Regions from separate parts of the Homo sapiens genome. Here all the other regions are linked to region 2. The links are contacts of gene promoters, found by promoter capture Hi-C in human tissues and cell types (Jung and others, 2019). All regions are on one chromosome and are shown on one strand. Each heading gives the region's core, a stretch centred on a gene start or on the middle of the fragment in contact. The rest is flanking DNA. Distances are from core to core; before and after follow the strand shown. Region 1 overlaps LOC107984515 (a long non-coding RNA gene). Region 2 holds the start of BLOC1S1 (biogenesis of lysosomal organelles complex 1 subunit 1). Region 3 holds the start of PTGES3 (prostaglandin E synthase 3).

The links. Contacts are between HindIII fragments. The study calls those that stand out against the background at their distance.
Region 1: a contact is called between a fragment that was not itself captured here and the fragment with the promoter of BLOC1S1 in region 2, in 1 of the 25 tissues and cell types used here (H1 embryonic stem cells).
Region 3: the fragment with the promoter of PTGES3 here is called in contact with the fragment with the promoter of BLOC1S1 in region 2 in 1 of the 25 tissues and cell types used here (neural progenitor cells).

Annotation. Positions count from the first base shown.
Region 1 is chr12:54,998,805-55,002,221 of GRCh38, forward strand. The region is part of intron 1 of LOC107984515 (a long non-coding RNA gene); the gene reads left to right. Among named protein-coding and RNA genes, the nearest start is that of TESPA1, 16 kb to the left of the region's middle. RefSeq lists a silencer at 2,531-2,580 and an enhancer at 2,681-2,870. The HindIII fragment of the contact is 4,658 bases long and covers 1-3,417 here.
Region 2 is chr12:55,714,796-55,717,383 of GRCh38, forward strand. It overlaps BLOC1S1 (biogenesis of lysosomal organelles complex 1 subunit 1), which reads left to right and starts at 1,251. Exons shown (of 4, transcript NM_001487.4): 1 at 1,251-1,401; 2 at 2,138-2,210. The coding sequence starts at 1,257. It overlaps BLOC1S1-RDH5 (BLOC1S1-RDH5 readthrough), which reads left to right and starts at 1,239. Exons shown (of 6, transcript NR_037658.1): 1 at 1,239-1,401; 2 at 2,138-2,210. It also overlaps a transcript of ITGA7 not described here. RefSeq lists enhancers at 1,296-1,435, 1,716-1,955. The HindIII fragment of the contact is 9,126 bases long and covers 1-2,588 here.
Region 3 is chr12:56,686,181-56,689,574 of GRCh38, forward strand. It overlaps PTGES3 (prostaglandin E synthase 3), which reads right to left and starts at 2,104. Exons shown (of 8, transcript NM_006601.7): 1 at 1,818-2,104. The coding sequence starts at 1,819. RefSeq lists enhancers at 1,211-1,260, 1,371-1,490, 1,989-2,514, 2,991-3,040 and a silencer at 2,151-2,340. The HindIII fragment of the contact is 15,862 bases long and covers 1-3,394 here.

The DNA of each region.
Region 1 (3,417 bases), core at 642-3,141, 720 kb before region 2:
TGAAATGATTGTTGCTGAATTCTTTTTACTTCTGTCTCATGTGAAAAAGAGTGTTGCTTCCCTTACAGAACACTGTTTCAAGGCTGATTCTTCAACTTTTACCTTTCCTTATTTATGGCTGGAACAACATAAAAGTTTCAATTGTGAAAAGAAATATTTTAGACAAGTTAAGTTTAACAGAGTTTAATAGATTTTTTAATTAAATTTCTTTTTCTTTTTGCAGAGACAGGGTCTTGCTATCTTGTCCAGGCTGGTCTCAAAATCCTGGGCTCAAGCAATGCTCCTCCTTTGACCTCTCAAAATGCTGGAATTACAGGTGTGTGGCATTGTGCTGGCCAACAGAGTTTAATTGAACAAGAAAAAAAAAGATTCATGAATTGGGCAGCCCCCAGAATCACAGCAGATTCAGAGAGGCTCCAGGGATGCCTGGCGGTCAGAGTGAGTTTATGGACCAAAAAAGGAAAGTGATTTACATAAAACGGAAGTGATGTACGGAAATAGCTAGGCTGGTTACAGCTTGGCATTTTGCCTTACTTAAACATGGTTTAAACAACAGCCTGTGAATGGCTGGAGTATGGCTACTGGGATTGGCTGAGACTCAGCTTTTGTTACAGAAGTATACTCCTCAGTTAGATTTCCACCCTGCCTACCTACTAAGTTCGGTTATGGTTCATCCATAAGGACTTAAGTATGAAAGTACGGAAGCTTTCCAAGCCCAGGTTTTAGTTTGATGTAAAACAATTTCCCTAGAGACAAGGTTTACTTAATTTCTTGATTCCACAAACATTTATTGCTCACTTGCCATATGCCACATACTGAGATGGGTATTGAAACATGTAAAGGCATAATTCTTGCCTTCAGAAAGATCAGGACCTCATGATGGGTCTAAATGTGTGTAGATGTGCAGAAATCAAGAAATCTGTGCAAGGCGCAGTGGCAACACAAGAGGCTTGCAATAAGAATCAGAAAAGGCATCAATGACGAGGTGATTCTTGGTGAGGTTTTGAAAAATTGTTCAGAAGGCCAATAAAATAAGGATAGGAATTCTGGGTAGAGAGAGAAAAGATATAGGGACAAGAAAGTCATAGCAATTTCATGACCTGCACGCATAAAGGATAAGACGAAAGGAGTAGCCAGAGATGGCCTTGAACAGCTGACGGATGTTTTACTTCTGGAGTTTTCTGGACCCCAAATTCATGTCCTCCTAACTGAGGGAGAGCAGATCTGCCTCTTAAAGGTCTGGGCAACCCCCGTTAGGGCCCTTTCTTTTGCCACCAACTTTCCTCTCAAATTTGCCTACAATGATCCCTCCCACAAATAATTGTTCCATTTTTGTGTGACTACTTCCTTTGGAAGTGCATTTAAGGAAGAATCTGATATTTCAAAGCATTGAAGGAAAAATTTCTGGTAGTAGAATTTCTAAAAACAAAAGAAAACCTCTGACTGGATCTCTGATGTTCTTCCATATACTCAGCAACCTTCTCTGCCTCTTTATTCATTCATTTGATCATTTAGTGCCAAGTTTTCAGCACCTTACCAAGCACTGCTCTAGAGATGATCCAGGGTAGAAGAAAAGGAGAGTCTTTCCCCTGCAGGAACTCAGTCTAGAGAAAGAGAGACAGATGCATAGATAATTAGAAGTTGCAATGAGAGCTCAGAGGAGGGGCATTGTGTTTGTTTCCAGTCACTGCCATTAACAAAGTACTGGAAATTGAGTGGTGTTTATTGTAGGGTAGCAGCCTGAAATCAAGGTATCAGCTGGCCACATTCCATGAAGCTTATAGGGGAATTCTCCCTTGTCTTCTCCTAGATTCTGGTGGTGTGCCGGCAATCTTTGGCATTCCTACTCCTGTAGATGCAATACTCCAAATCTCTGTCTTCACATGGAGTTCTTTGTGTGTGTTTTTGTCTTCACATAGTCACCTCCTTTTTTTTTTTTTTAAGATGGAGTCTCACTCTGTTGCCCAAGCTGGAGTGCAAAGGTGCCATCTCAGCTCACTGCAACCTCTGCCTCCCGGGTTCAAGCGATTCTCCTGCCTCAGCCTCCTGAGTAGCTGGGATTACAGGCCCGCGCTACCACACCCTGCTAATTTTTGTATTTTTAGTAGAGATGTGGTTTCACCATTTTGGTCAGGCTGGTTTCAAACTCCTGACCTTGTGATCTGCCTGTCTCGCCCTCCCAAAGTGCTGGGATTACAGGCATGAGCCACCACACCCGGCTCATAGTCGCCTTCTTATAAGGACAACAGTCATATTGGATTAGGGTCCACCCCGCTCAAGTATAACTTCACCATCATTTAACTAATTACACCTGCCATCGCCCAGTTTCCTAATAAGGTCACATTCTGAGGTTCTCATTAGGATTTCAAAGTATCTTTTTTGGGGGAAACACAATTCCACTTGTAATGGGCACCTAATTTTTCATAGGTGTATCAAGAATATTCTTAGAAGCAGGAATGATTGAAGTAAGTGTTTATTCCAGAGAGTCAAGTAAAAATGAACTAAAACAGTGATTTAGAGAGAAATGGTCCCATGGAGGAAATGACATGAGAAGAGACACGTGAGTGTATAGAAAAGGCACAAATAGACCAGGGCAGCGTGAAGAACTTCCTGTAGCTGTAGTATACAGTATTCAAAAACAAAGTGGTGAATGTTGGGATGTGAGAAAGGCATGCAGATCAGATAGTTACGGGCTTGGTAGCTGTTTTATCCTGGTATCAGTTGAGACCATTTCTTACTTATGGACTTGGGATTTACTGCCCTGACACCACTGAAAAGCAGGAGGCTGAGCAGTTAGTAAGTGTGATGTGGGAAAGGGGAAGTGGGAGACAGCTCTGTCCTCAGCAGCTGCAGTGGTCCCCCTGCTCCCCTCCTTCCCTTCCAGAGTAGGCACAGCCATCATCACTGGACTTTCCTGTGAAATGTAAATCCCATCAGAAAGAGACTCTGTTGTATTCATCCATATATTCTCAGCACAACAGCTGGCCCAGTGTACACACTGAATTTAGATTGGTCGAATGAATGAATAGATGGAAAAGTACATTTAGCTCAGCAAGACCCTGAGCAGGCCCTGCTGACCAAGTAATGCACCTAGGCGGATGCCATTTACGCATCCTGGTGCCTGCTTTACTTCTCTTTGCTTCTCTGTCTTTAAGATTCCATCAGGGAAGGTCTTTCAAGTGATAAAGAAAGACTCGCAGAAGTCTCTAGTAATCTGTGTTTACTACAAGGCTATGTGGGGAAGTGAAATAGTACGGGAGTATACAGCAACAGAAGCCTGATTATTCCGAGTCCCAGGGATGCCAGGATGGTGAGCACAGAGAGGGAGAATGAGATAACTAAGGCACCAACCTGGACTCAAACTCACTTTCTGTGTATACTTAATATTGTTACTTCCCAAGAGAGGATCTGCTAAGT
Region 2 (2,588 bases), core at 1-2,500:
ACATATATATAGTGATGTTTGGTCTTCACTCCTTAGATTCTATTTAATTAGTCTGGAATCAAGGCTTTTTTTTTTTTTTTTTTGAGACAGAGTCCCACTCTGTCGCCCAGGCTGGAGTTCAGTGGCGTGATCTCGGCTCACTGCAACCTCTGCCTCCCAGGTTCAAGCGATTCTCCTGCCTCAGGCTCCTGAGTAGCTGGGATTACAGGCTTGTGCCACTACGCCTGGCTAAATTTTGTATTTTTAGTAGATACAAGGTTTCACCATGTTGGTCAGCCTGGTCTCGAACTCCTGACCTCGTGATCCGCCCGCCTCGGCCTCCCAAAGTGCTGGGATTACGGGCGTGAGCCACCGCACCCGGCTAATCACGGCATTTTTATAAGCCTTGTGATTTCTGTGATTCTAATGTTTAGATTCTAATGCTTAGCCAGGGTTGAGAACCACCGATTTAATCCAATCCCTTCTCCTAGTTTTACTAAAGAGAAAACTATAACCTAGAATGGTGAGCAACTTGCCCAAAGTCACCCAACATGTTAGTGCAAGGTGCACCGAGAGAGATTGTACCAGTAGCAAGAATATGCTCATGATGTTTATAATTGTTCTCGCTGGAGTTAATCCCGGAAGCATTTCTTTTTAGTTCACAGAGGCCTTATATAAATTACTTTTTACTTTGGCACAGCACTTACGCTTCTGCTAACACTGAAATGGGTTCGCATTCCTGACCACAAAAGGACAGAGATGAAATTCTACATTCACACAGCCCGCCAAGTTAGCCAAGCTCCCTAGGAGGCTGTCTGAAGTGCCTAAAATGCTTCTCTACAATGATCACCCAGAGCTGAGAGACTTCAGTGGGGTAGTGAGAAGAAAGAGGGTTGGGAGAGACAGGAAAGCATCCTCTCCTTGAGGGAAGGAACTGGGAATCAACTGAGAACCAGCTAGCACTGCCAGGAGGTGAGGAGAGGGAAGGAGAATAATTTAAATGAGGCCAGGGAGCTTCTGCTCCCTCAATTAAACGGTGATAGACGGCCTGACACCACCAGCCCTCGAAGCCTGAGATCCACAGGAAATGTTAAAAACTGGCTTGGCAATATAAGTATTAGAAAATACTTCTTCCAACACTCACCAAAAACTAAGCTCCCAATAAAGAACACTTCACCTGCCCTCCGCAACCCTCTACCTCTCTTCCCCGCCAAGATCTTCACCCAAGGTCTCAAGAGGGCGGTTCCCAACCTCACGTGACACAGCGGTCACGTGACATGGCCCCGGGGAGCCGAGGTGAGCGTTCCAGCTTCCGGAGCCGGAGGGGGCCCGGCGTACCCAGCCCCCAGCCCGACGTGACCATGCTGTCCCGCCTCCTAAAAGAACACCAGGCCAAGCAGAATGAACGCAAGGAGCTGCAGGGTGAGCCAAATATCCTGTCGGCCGTTTTCTCTTCGGCCGCGGCCTAGCTTCAGCCCGGAGCCTGGATCTCGAGTAACTAACCATATCCAGGGAAAGACGCCAGCTAGCGGGCAACGGGCATGGGGGAGAGGGAATTTCAGAGAGGCTTTTTTTGAAACTCCTTTCCCTTGCCAACTGGCTCCGGTCCCTTGGGCAATACTCCGGTCCCCTCGGCAACGCCCCCAATCCCCGACCTGCCGCACCTTAGCCCCGCCCCTGCCCCGGAGCGCCCTGCCTATTGGCCCTGGGAGCCTCTCGTCCTGGCGGCGGGAAGGAGCGACTCTGGAGGGAGGAGGGTGTGGGGAACCCCCCAGAGATGGGCTTCTTGGAGGCCTGAAACCACCGGAACGGAGGTGGGGCACTTGTTTCCTGAGTCCGGGCTGGAAATCTCGGAGTTACCGATTCTGCGGCCGAGTAGTGGAGAAAGAGTGCCTGGGAGTCAGGAGTCCTGGGCGCTGCCGCTGACTTCCTGGCGTCCCTGAGTGAGTCCATTTCCCTCCCAGGGTACCAGTTTCCTCATCTCTAAAATGAAAGAGGTTGCGCTATGTTTTGCAAGGTCCTTTTCAGCTCCGGCATTCAGAGATTAGTTAAGAAATTTCGGCAACTAGCAGAATAGTAATGGATGGGTAGGGAACCTTTAACACTACCCCTCAAAAAACCAAGTCTCCCCTCCAATTCCTTTTCCCCCTCTCCCCAGAAAAGAGGAGGCGAGAGGCTATCACTGCAGCGACCTGCCTGACAGAAGCTTTGGTGGATCACCTCAATGTGGGGTATGGACCTCTTATCAACATCAGTTTCCTCCTTCCCCACCCCGCCCAAGTTTAGGCACTGGCCAGTCTGGCCCTCAAATAGCTGTTGAAGGGGTGGGATGTTCCACTAATTCCCCTATCCTACCCCGCCCCTCCCAGCTCTTTGTAGAGCAACTTGAGTCAACTCTGAGTCCTAGCACTGGGCAAGGGAGGAACAGCTGCCGTGGTTAGAGAAGCAGCCAGATTTCCCCTTCCCCACGTTAACTTCCCTGGCATTTACAACTTGATGCCATCTGCCCACCTCCCTTCACCCTTCCAAGTCCAGCTGTCACTTCAGCAGGAGGGAGAGCACCCTCCTTCATTACAGCTTACCACCCTCTCCTCTGCCTCCCACCCTCT
Region 3 (3,394 bases), core at 854-3,353, 970 kb after region 2:
CCAATTTTAAACATACTTTTCGCGAAAAGATATGTTGTTTGGCTCTATTATTAAAAGCTGCTTAATGCCTCATCTGACAAAAAATTTCCCCTTACAGATTTTCAGAGTATGAAAGGTTAAGACTGATGTCCCTTCTACATTACTTAGGAGAGCTTTCAAATAGAAAAGCAAAAACTATTTTATATACATTCAAATTTATTTATTTATTTTGAGACGGGTTTTCACTCTTGTTGCCCAGGCTGGAGTGCAATGGCATGATCTCGGCTCACCGCAACCTCCACCTCCCAGATTCAAGCGATTCTCCTAACCTCAGCCTCCCGAGTAGCTGGGATTACAGGCATGTGCCACCACGCCCGGCTAATTTTTTTTGTATTTTTGCAGCGACGCGGTTTCTCCATGTTGGTCAGTCTGGTCTCGAACTCCCGACCTCAGGTGATCCGCCCGCCTCGGCCTCTCAGAGTGCTGGGATCACAGTTGTGAGCCACCGCGCCCAGCCTAATTCAAATTTTTTAAAACCCCGATTACGTATCACTTTCGGGGAGGGGGCTCCTTCAAAAATTCTAACATGCTGTGCTCTAGAAGCTTGTTCCCAGTGATAAACTCGCTTCAGCCTCACGCATCCCTTTAGATTTCTAGCCAATATACTCAGCCTCAGTATCATGACTTGAATCAAGCAAATCCTTATTACTTTTCCAAAGACATAAAGTCACTCCCCTCTTCTCTCTTCTGAATGGAGTCTAAAACAAAAGAAAAAAAAGGTTCCACCTTAATTGTTCTCCATACCTTTTAGGACGTAGTTAGTACCTTGAAAAATAACCTCCCGTCAAAAAAAAAAAAAAAAAAAAAAAAACCCTGTAAAACCGGCAGTTCCCACTGTACGCGGCAGTGCCAAGAATTCTTACCGGTTAAAATCGCCAAGGCTTTCCTTTATCATCGTAAAATGAAGACTGCCATAGAATCTGTATTCACCTCCACACAAATTTAAGATCTTTGGGACGACTGTAGGTTAATTAAATGCCTACTACATACCTATTTCATCCTACACTGTAACAAGATAGTGAAACCTCACCTCAAGTAGAACATGAAACACAGAAAATGTCCGTATCTTTCCAAAGTCGACACGTGCGGAACTACCTGCTCAATGGTAACTCCTCCTCGCTGCCAGGGAAGCGGCTGAGTTTTGGCAACCTCCCGTGTTTTCAAGAGACTGGAGTTAGGAGGCGGACTGGAAGTACCCACACTCAAGAAACCCAGACACTGGAGAGGGAAGTATGTTGCGGCGTGGGCATGGCTTCCTTCTAGTTGCCTAGCAGTACCTGCAGCTCACGGCGAGGTCCGCGTGGGGCTCTCCCAGGAGCTCCGCCAGGCACCTGGCGGCACCCACCACAGGTGCACTCGACTCAGGGCCTGGCCCCGGGACCACAAAGCAACAGAACCGGAGCGCCCAAGCAGCCGAGAGGCGACCCACGAAGGTTCACGCTTCAGGGCGCCGCATGGCGAGCAGCTACCGGGAGCTTAAGGCCTAGGGTGAAGTTACCGAAAGAGGCGAGTAACCCAGACAGCCAAAGGGGTAAAAGTAGGATTTCCGGCATGGGGAAGCCAAGGAACGGTTCAGGGGTGGGGGAAGCAGACATCTGGAGGAAAAATGTCCTCCACCCGCCAACGGTAACCGGAACAAGGATCCTGGACCTCCCGCCCCCAGGCAGGAACGACTGCCACCACCGATGCGAGAAAGGCTAGGGGGCCGCTTCCAGGGAGCCCCCAACGCGGCCTCGGCCTCACTCGGCGACCTTCCCTCGGCGGGGTGTCGCACTCACATTGTGAACGGGGCAGGGGGACGGGCGAACTGGTGGGCGGGCCTCTCTGGCGGCGGCTGCTGCTAGGGAGTCGACTTCTCTCCGGTGGCGACTCCGCTTTTTCTCTCCGGTCGCGGCCTCTTCTCGCTTCCCTCAGGCGACGGCGGCAGCGGCGGGCTCGACCTCGGGCCCCAGAATGCACCGCGCGGAAAGAGCGGCTCCTCCGGTCGGGGAGAAGAGGAAAGTGTAGGAAAAGGGGCGCGAGGACGGAGAATGAACGTGCGTGCGTGCAAACGAGGGGTGGTGAGGCCGGGCGGCGGCTGGTGACGCAGCAAAATGCCCGGGCCTTGCCGCCGCGCGTGCGCAGTCCTTGTTTTTGGGCTCCGGCGCGGCTTTCTAGAGATATCTACGGAAAGGGCGGGGCCTCCCAGCTCCTTCGCGATCCTTCCTGGCGCCGGCCCCGCCCTTCGTCCGCCACCCCACCCCCACTCCGCCCCCTGCTAGTCCCTACGCGTTCCCGCCTCTCCTCCCGCTCTGTCTTCTCGCGTTAGAAAACCGTTAGTGGCCCAACTGCCCTGCCATGCGCCTTCGGCGATTTCTCTGAGAAACGGTTGCGTTGACAGTGGGAGGCAAGGCTGAGGCGGAGGGACACGGAGTCGGGATCCTGGAGAACTGAAATGGCGCGTTGGTTACTCTTGAGGGAGTAAATCAGCTCACTGAGTCATCATTCCACCACAAAAACCTGTAAAAAGCCTGTGCTGTGGAAAAGGGCTCACTTCAGAATCAAGGGCCTGGGTCCACCTCGCCATTTTTCTGAAGGTTGGAGGCTCTGTCCAGGGACAGCGGAAATTCGAGGTTCTTGGCGGAGGAGGAGCATTTGCCAATTGGGGCGGGCTTTTGCCCCTACCTTGAGACCTTAGTGCTGTAGATGAGCCAGGAAAGGTATTTGAGGGGAGAGTCTAGGTTTCTGGGAATGGAGAGAGTAGGACATTGTGTGTTTCCACGCACATCGTTTGGGGGAGAAGGGGTTCCCCGTCGCTTTGTGCAACATATTAGTAGGGTGTAGTAGGGGTAGCAACCAAGAGACCCAAAACAGTCCTGCTTAAGAAGAAGCCGCTTAACGGTGGATTGGGGAAAAATACTCTAGTGCGCTGCATTTTGAACAGGAAGGAGGTTTAACGAAAGTGCTATAAAACCTTTCTGAAGAACGGGGCTTCATAATAAGCACTAAGGTATTTAGTGTCTGTGTTGTGCAGGACAGGTAGTGGGAGCTACGAAACCTGGACCCTAGCTCAAATGCCATTAAAAAGGGAAATTGGGCGGGGCGCCCGTGGCTCACGCCTATAATCCCAGTACTTTGGGAAGTTCGGTGGGCGGATCACCTGAGGTCAGGAGTTCAGGACCAGCCCACCCAACATGGTGAAACCCCATCTCTACTAAAAATACTAATTAGCAGGGCGTGGTGGCACTTGCCTGTAATGCCAAATACTAGCTAGTATGAGGCGGGAGGATAGCTCGAACCCCGAACCCGGGAGGCGGAGGTTGCAGTGAGCACTCCAACTTGGGCGACAGAGTGAGACCCTGTGTCAAAAAAAAAA